Linked DNA regions of Homo sapiens: region 1 is linked to region 2. The links are contacts of gene promoters, found by promoter capture Hi-C in blood cells and fetal thymus (Javierre and others, 2016). All regions are on one chromosome and are shown on one strand. The core of a region is centred on a gene start or on the middle of the fragment in contact, and the rest is flanking DNA. Distances in the headings are between cores, read along the strand shown. Region 1 overlaps IL17RD (interleukin 17 receptor D). Region 2 holds the start of FLNB-AS1 (FLNB antisense RNA 1).

Region 1 (4,160 bases), core at 567-3,066, 1.1 Mb after region 2:
GGTGAAGTCCTCTAAGGGGCCACACATGTCTGATTTTTCTCTCCTTTGTCAGCCACGCCCACAGTCTCTCTACCAGACCGCCTTTGGGGGTAAAGCTTTGTCAATTACCAGCCTTGTAGAGATGTAGCCTTGTATACCTGTGTGAAGCCATAGAGGAAGGTGCTAGCCAGTCCTGAGTGAGTTACTCAGAATGACCATGTTAATGCAGTTCACTAGCCTCCTCTCCAGCCATGGACCAACTAGTAAACAACATAGGTGAGCCTGAGGCTATGAGAGTGTCGAGATAGGTCCCCTTTGTCAGTCACTGTCTGGATGTGAGTCACCTATAATTGTGGGTGACTGGCATCCAGGCCTGAGCCCCATCTCCCAGCTCACTTTGGAGTCACTCATCCACATCCTCCTCTCAGAGCCTGCCAGCCTTCTCTCCAGAATCTGCCCCTCCAATCTAGGCACCTCACTCACCAGATCAACCAACCTCAGTTTCTCTGTCCTGTGCTCTCTACCACCTGTTGCTTCCTTGAGGATATCCTATGTAGGGTGTGACTTGGGCAAGGTGCCAAAAGCACTGCGCTTCTGTCCCCTCACTTGTAGGGCAGGAGTGGTAATGACTCCATGTGATACAAAAATGGATGGATGGCAAGTTTTTGCAGAGGGACTAGGGTGTGACCATCACCCACGGAACTTTAGCTGTTCCTTGGTATGGTGTAACCTGGAGCCTGCACATAGCTGTGCTAATAAGGGTTAAGGGGCAGATGAGATGGCCTCCTTCTGACATTTCCCTTCCTGTTACTCACTTCCCGAGCCTCTTCCCGAGCCTTCTGTATGGGTGAGGTGCCTTGTTCTCTTTCCAGGTGGCTCTGGACCTGTGGGAAGACTTCAGCCTCTGTAGAGAAGGGCAGAGAGAATGGGTCATCCAGAAGATCCACGAGTCCCAGTTCATCATTGTGGTTTGTTCCAAAGGTATGAAGTACTTTGTGGACAAGAAGAACTACAAACACAAAGGAGGTGGCCGAGGCTCGGGGAAAGGAGAGCTCTTCCTGGTGGCGGTGTCAGCCATTGCCGAAAAGCTCCGCCAGGCCAAGCAGAGTTCGTCCGCGGCGCTCAGCAAGTTTATCGCCGTCTACTTTGATTATTCCTGCGAGGGAGACGTCCCCGGTATCCTAGACCTGAGTACCAAGTACAGACTCATGGACAATCTTCCTCAGCTCTGTTCCCACTTGCACTCCCGAGACCACGGCCTCCAGGAGCCGGGGCAGCACACGCGACAGGGCAGCAGAAGGAACTACTTCCGGAGCAAGTCAGGCCGGTCCCTATACGTCGCCATTTGCAACATGCACCAGTTTATTGACGAGGAGCCCGACTGGTTCGAAAAGCAGTTCGTTCCCTTCCATCCTCCTCCACTGCGCTACCGGGAGCCAGTCTTGGAGAAATTTGATTCGGGCTTGGTTTTAAATGATGTCATGTGCAAACCAGGGCCTGAGAGTGACTTCTGCCTAAAGGTAGAGGCGGCTGTTCTTGGGGCAACCGGACCAGCCGACTCCCAGCACGAGAGTCAGCATGGGGGCCTGGACCAAGACGGGGAGGCCCGGCCTGCCCTTGACGGTAGCGCCGCCCTGCAACCCCTGCTGCACACGGTGAAAGCCGGCAGCCCCTCGGACATGCCGCGGGACTCAGGCATCTATGACTCGTCTGTGCCCTCATCCGAGCTGTCTCTGCCACTGATGGAAGGACTCTCGACGGACCAGACAGAAACGTCTTCCCTGACGGAGAGCGTGTCCTCCTCTTCAGGCCTGGGTAAGGTGCCTTTGGGGCCGGGTCCTAACAGGCCGCAGCCTTTGACCATGCTTCTGAAATCAGTCAAAGCGTTTTTCCACTTTTGGTGCCAACTTATTGGGCAATGAAACCTGATGAGAACACAGCTCGTTTGGTAGTCTTGATTTATACCAGGTGATGGGAGTACTCACATGTTTGAGTTGCAGAAATACTAATGCTAAATTATAGTGAGCTGCCCAGACCCTGCAAGGGGTGTTGTGCCACATACAGACTATGCACTGTATCACTTTTCTAAACTCCAAAAACATCAGACACGAAAACACATTGGGCCCCAAGGGTCTTGGGTAACAGTTTGTGGATGCGTCTTTTTTAGACCTGTAATGTTCACACCCCCCGCCCCCATTGTCTTTAAAGCTACATTCATTGAGTCTGGGATTCATGGGTACAGTATTCTTTCTATCCTTCAGCATAGGGTCCCAGGTATGAGGGCTCTCTAGGAAGGCCTACTTCTGCAGGGAGCATCAGGTAGATGCCATCTCAGGCTGTCCCTTACCATGTCTGTAACTAGTTGGAGTCATGCATACAAACCCTTGACTTTTTTTTTTTTTTTTTGAGATGGAGTCTCACCCTGTCGCCCAGGCTGCAATGGCATGATCTCAGCTCACTGCAACCTCTGCCTCCTGGGTTCAAGCGATTCTTCTGCCCAGCCTCCCGAATAGCTGGGATTACAAGCATGCGCCACCATGCCCAGCTAAATTTTTGTATCTTTAGTAGAGATTGGGTTTCACCATGTTGGCCAGGCTGGTCTCAAACTCCTGACCTCAAGTGATCCCTCAACCTCGGCCTCCCAAAGTGCTGGGATTACAGGCGTGAGCCACTGCGCCCGGCCTAAACGCTTGACTTTTAAGAAATATCTCTTCCTTCCTCAACTAAGGGAACTAGAACCTGTTAGGAGGATGAGAGTGCCCCATCTTGAGTTGGTTGGGATTCTTGCCTCGTTTATACAGAGCCCATAGTCCAAACCCAGATCCAGTCACATTCTGCCATGAGCACCTGCCCAGCCCAGTGAAATGCAATGACAGTGTGACTCTGTACTCTCTTCTCTCCTTAGGTGAGGAGGAACCTCCTGCCCTTCCTTCCAAGCTCCTCTCTTCTGGGTCATGCAAAGCAGATCTTGGTTGCCGCAGCTACACTGATGAACTCCACGCGGTCGCCCCTTTGTAACAAAACGAAAGAGTCTAAGCATTGCCACTTTAGCTGCTGCCTCCCTCTGATTCCCCAGCTCATCTCCCTGGTTGCATGGCCCACTTGGAGCTGAGGTCTCATACAAGGATATTTGGAGTGAAATGCTGGCCAGTACTTGTTCTCCCTTGCCCCAACCCTTTACCGGATATCTTGACAAACTCTCCAATTTTCTAAAATGATATGGAGCTCTGAAAGGCATGTCCATAAGGTCTGACAACAGCTTGCCAAATTTGGTTAGTCCTTGGATCAGAGCCTGTTGTGGGAGGTAGGGAGGAAATATGTAAAGAAAAACAGGAAGATACCTGCACTAATCATTCAGACTTCATTGAGCTCTGCAAACTTTGCCTGTTTGCTATTGGCTACCTTGATTTGAAATGCTTTGTGAAAAAAGGCACTTTTAACATCATAGCCACAGAAATCAAGTGCCAGTCTATCTGGAATCCATGTTGTATTGCAGATAATGTTCTCATTTATTTTTGATGTAGAATTTACATTGCCATGGGTGTTAAATAAGCTTTGAGTCAAAAGTCAAGAAAGTGACTGAATATACAGTCACCTTTTATGAAATGAGTCTCTGTGTTACTGGGTGGCATGACTGATTGAGGTGAAGCTCACGGGGCCAGGCTGACCGTCTTGACCGTTCCACTTGAGATAGGTTGGTCATCGTGCAGAAGGCCCCAGGACCTCAGCACACACAGCCTCCTCTTGGTCTGAGTAGGCATCATGTGGGGGCCAGATCTGCCTGCTGTTTCCATGGGTTACATTTACTGTGCTGTATCTCAGATGTTGGTGTCTGGAAGTTTATTCTTAAGAGACTGCTACCCAGCTGGTCTGTATTATTGGAAGTTGCAGTTCGTGCTTTGGTTGGCCTTCTGGTCTAAAGCTGTGTCCTGAATATTAGGGATCACAATTCACTGAAATACAGCAGTGTGTGGAGGTGATGGCCAGTTAATCTGCTGAACTGGTTTTGACTAATGACAAACCTCTTTTTAAGATGGTAGAATGGAGGTGATAGTCACAAAAGTAAATGTTCCATTTTTATGAATGACTTTCTACAGAGTTTCTATTTCTAAAGAAAAAACAATTGTTCACATCCCATCTGATGATTAGCATGTGTGTAATGAATGCTGTCTTGGTCTCCC
Region 2 (3,729 bases), core at 753-3,252:
CCCAGGTTCATTGTCAAAACAAGTTGCTAGTTTTGTGTCCCTTAAGGGGTTGGGAGAGCTGATCTGGGGCTCCAACGATGTGCCTGTGTGTGTGTGTGTGTGTGTGTGTGTGTGTGTGTGTGTGTTACACTGTCTTGCTCTGTTGCCCAGGCTAGAGTGCAGGGTTGCAAACACAGCTCACTGCAACCTTGGCCTCTCAGGCTCAAGCAATCCTCCTGCCTCCGCCTCCTGAGTAGCTGGGACTGCAGGCATGCATCACCATGCTGGCTAATTTTTTAATTTTTTGTAGAGGCTGGGTCTTGCTGTTACCCAGGCTGAGGGTGTTGAACTCCTAGGATTAAACAATTTATTCAGAAGCGACATCATCCAAGAACACCAAGGCAACTTTACGGAGCAAATGTTTTATTTAATAAGTTATAAGATACAATTTACAGTCGGCGTTTGATTCCAGTTTGGCTTCCGTGTCCCAGCTTACAACACCCGTGGTCCTTTCACATCAGGCTCCGGGCTGTTCCACTTTCTGTAGGGTGGGCTTTTACCCCCAACACTCGCCCCAGATACTACACCTGCCACAAGAGTGGCCACTTCCTCAGGACTAAGCAGCAAAACCTAAAGGTCTGCCTGCCCAGACCACACTACACATTTGGGCTCAGGCAACGTCCCTGACACTTTAACCTCATTCCAAAGCCAGCTCAGGTCTGCAGGAAGGCAGGCAAAATTCCCTACACCTCATTTCTGGATTTCTGCACCACACAGCTCTCACTGTTTCTGCCAATGGTGAAAAGACCACCAATAAGCTGCTGCCCTTCTCTCCCCCAACCATTCCCAACTTTCAGGCCAAAGACCCGCAGGAGTTTCATTCTGTCCTGTCTGTACAGATCATTATTTTCCAGAAAAAGTGACCCATGAAGTTGGCTGGGGCGGGTGTGGAGTGTTATGTCATGGGACGGACCTTGGGATGAGGGCGTTAATCCATGGGCCCCTCTGAGATCACTTTAAACATTTTGGTAAGACTGCCCAGGCTGATGAAGGGCTGGAGCGTGTGTTAAAAACAAGGGCTAGTGTTGGTTAAAAGGGATCTTTGGCAAGTGGGAAACTGCTCGCCACTGCAGAATTTCTTCAGACCAAGGAAGGGACTGAAACGGACTTGGAAAACTAAAGCAAAACCATGACTGCCGGGATGGTCTCGTGTGGTGATTCTGCAAGAAATAATCACCAGAGCGAGGGGACAGGTACTTGAGAGACATGTGGGCCTGGCTGCCACTCTGCCCTCTGAGTTTCTGTAGGGTGCCCGGCTGCCACTCTGCCCTCTGAGAAGTGTAAGAAGGCCACAGAGCATGGGGGTGTTGGCGATGAGGAGCGGTAAAGCAGTGCTAGTGATCTAATAGCCAAATACATTAACACGGACACTGGAAGAGATTAAGCGGATTTTAAGTCATCTCCTTTGCCAAATGACAACCAAACTAGGTGTCCCCTTTTTCTCTGCCCATCTTCCCCTAGCCTTGTTTCATAAATGCTGAAGAGTGAACCAGCAGCTCAGGCTAGCCAGTTTTGTTTTTTTGAAATGTCAGTCTCATTGTGTTCCTGGTCTGTCTGCTGCAGTGGCTGGTCTGTTCCACCAAGAGTTCTGGTTTGCACCTAGTGTACTCAGGATCTTCTCAGCCCCCTGAACAAGCTTGCATTTCTTAAGATTCTCCAATATGTCCCTCAAGAGTCCAGTCTAGGACTTATTTCTGAAGGCATTTTACAACAGCAATATTTTAGGGATGGGGTTTCAGCCCCACAAACAGGCTGGAGGGCTTTGTATAAAATGAATTACAAACAAGCAACAAAAGCAACCACAAGAACTCTCTCCAGGATTTGAGAAAACTGTTTTAAGGCACTGTGACATGAAAAGGGCTGCCAGGGATGTGTTCCTCCCCCCACTTCACAGCCAGCACATAATCGCCCCTCTCCTTGACGACGTATGTGACGTTGTATTGCTGGTTGCCTACATGCTTCATGGAGACCTCCTCGCAGGGGGTGGTGGGCCCATGGACCCCGATCAGCAGCATGTTGGAGCCTAGGAGGCAAAAGGTGGTTACTCCACCCGGATGCATCAGGACAGGCACAGGAAGAAGAGGAAATATGAGAGCCAAAGGTAAGGTGCTTCCACGATAATGCTGGGGCCCCTAAGAGGTGGGAGAGCGTGGCAATTACAAGCAGAGGCTCATAGAGCCTGACGGTGTGGGTTCGAATCCCTGCCCTGCCACTTGCTACCTGGGTGACCTTGGACTGGAATCTCACCTCTCCCTAGCTCAGCTTCCCCATCTGTAAACAGGGAATGAGAACAGCACATACCTCACGAACTAGTTGTGAGGTTTAAGAGTTATGGGTGTCAAAACCTAGCACACAGTAAGGGCTATTCTAAGTGTTGGCTATGAGAATCTTCTTGTTTACTCTCACAAGCACCTTAAGGAAGGTACTTCCGAGAAGAGGAAACTGACTTTTGGAAAGAGATTTAATAACTTTCCAAGGTCACATGGCTAAATAAGTTTTAGAACAAACGAATGAATGAATGAAGTGGCGGTACTAGGTTTCCAGCCCAGGTGTACTGGATGCCAGAACCCAGGCAACCGACCCTTGAAACCCAAATAAATACCCAAGTTCAAAAGGCAAAAGAGAAGGAAATCATTTAAAAATATTAAGTGCAGGAGAACAGGGTCATGACGATGGTTACTTGCAAACGGCTGGCCTACATGGGGGTGGGCACTGCAGGAGACCTCAGCAGGGAAGGCCAGTGTACCCAGGGTGCCCAGCCTGCCCCTGCCCCACCCCACCCTTGAAAAGGCCCAGACACCTACCAGCTTTGCTGCAGTCCACCAGGAAGGAACTCTTCTGGCCCACAAAGGCCTTTGAGAGCCCTGCCCCCTTAGAGGTCACCTTGCTGGCGTCCGAGGATGCCTTGGGAATGGCGCTATAGCAGGTCTCTGTAGACGACCTGGTCACTGACTCCACCAGGATGGATGAGGTCTCGTTGGCTGAGCCAGGGCTAACTAGACGCTGGCCTAAGATACAGGAGGGAGGGGGACAGGCATGAATGGCCAGATCAAGAGGGGTCTCTCAGCCAGAGGACAGGCGAGTACCCTACACAGTAACCCCAGGAGAGCCCGCGCACCCCAACACAAAAGCCACCACACCTGTATCTCACACCCATAATGTCTTCTAAACCCCTAGGATCCCACCCCCATACAACTAGGATCTGGCTTTCTGGGCAAATGGATGAGTCTGGCCTTGGCTGACAAGGCCAAGGACCCTCCCAATCCCCCCACCCCCTACCCACCAAAGATGTGCCTGTGGAATTCACATCTTTCTATTGACATAAAATAGTCTATGTATAAGCAGTGTAAAAGTTTGGGATGACATATAATGAAATATCAAAAAATGATTCTGTGGATGAGAAAGGATGATTTTTCTATCTGAATTTTCTAATTTTCCTGCGATGAACCTACATTCTTTATGTAACAGTGAATCATGACGTGTGGAAGGGATTTACTACAGTGTTTATGGTGGTTACCTTGGGTGGTGGCTGTGAAGTGGTTTTCATAGTTTGGTATTTTTTCCAGTGTTTTGGAGGAGACACATTTTTATAAGTATAGGAAAACTTTTTGATTATTTTTCAAGTGAAAATTAGAAATCAGGGGATTTTTCAGACCCTGATCTAAACAAATACGTAAGATTTCAATATGT

What was found. The method cuts DNA at HindIII sites, captures the fragments that hold promoters and counts their contacts. A CHiCAGO score of 5 or more calls a contact.
Region 1: a contact is called between a fragment that was not itself captured here and the fragment with the promoter of FLNB-AS1 in region 2, in 1 of 17 cell types (naive B cells). The highest score is 6.8, in naive B cells.

What each region holds. Positions count from the first base shown.
Region 1 is chr3:57,095,230-57,099,389 of GRCh38, reverse strand. IL17RD (interleukin 17 receptor D) reads left to right here. Exons shown (of 13, transcript NM_017563.5): 12 at 852-1,794; 13 at 2,885-4,160. The coding sequence ends at 2,997. Among named protein-coding and RNA genes, the nearest start is that of SPATA12, 37 kb to the right of the region's middle. RefSeq lists an enhancer at 975-2,174. The HindIII fragment of the contact is 3,437 bases long and covers 98-3,534 here.
Region 2 is chr3:58,168,908-58,172,636 of GRCh38, reverse strand. It overlaps FLNB-AS1 (FLNB antisense RNA 1), which reads left to right and starts at 2,002. Exons shown (of 2, transcript NR_135534.1): 1 at 2,002-2,140. FLNB (filamin B) reads right to left here. Exons shown (of 46, transcript NM_001457.4): 45 at 2,844-3,047; 46 at 386-2,062. The coding sequence ends at 1,875. It overlaps LOC124909485, which reads right to left and starts at 860. Exons shown (of 6, transcript XM_047449435.1): 1 at 764-860; 2 at 476-566. The coding sequence starts at 860. The HindIII fragment of the contact is 5,353 bases long and covers 1,678-3,729 here.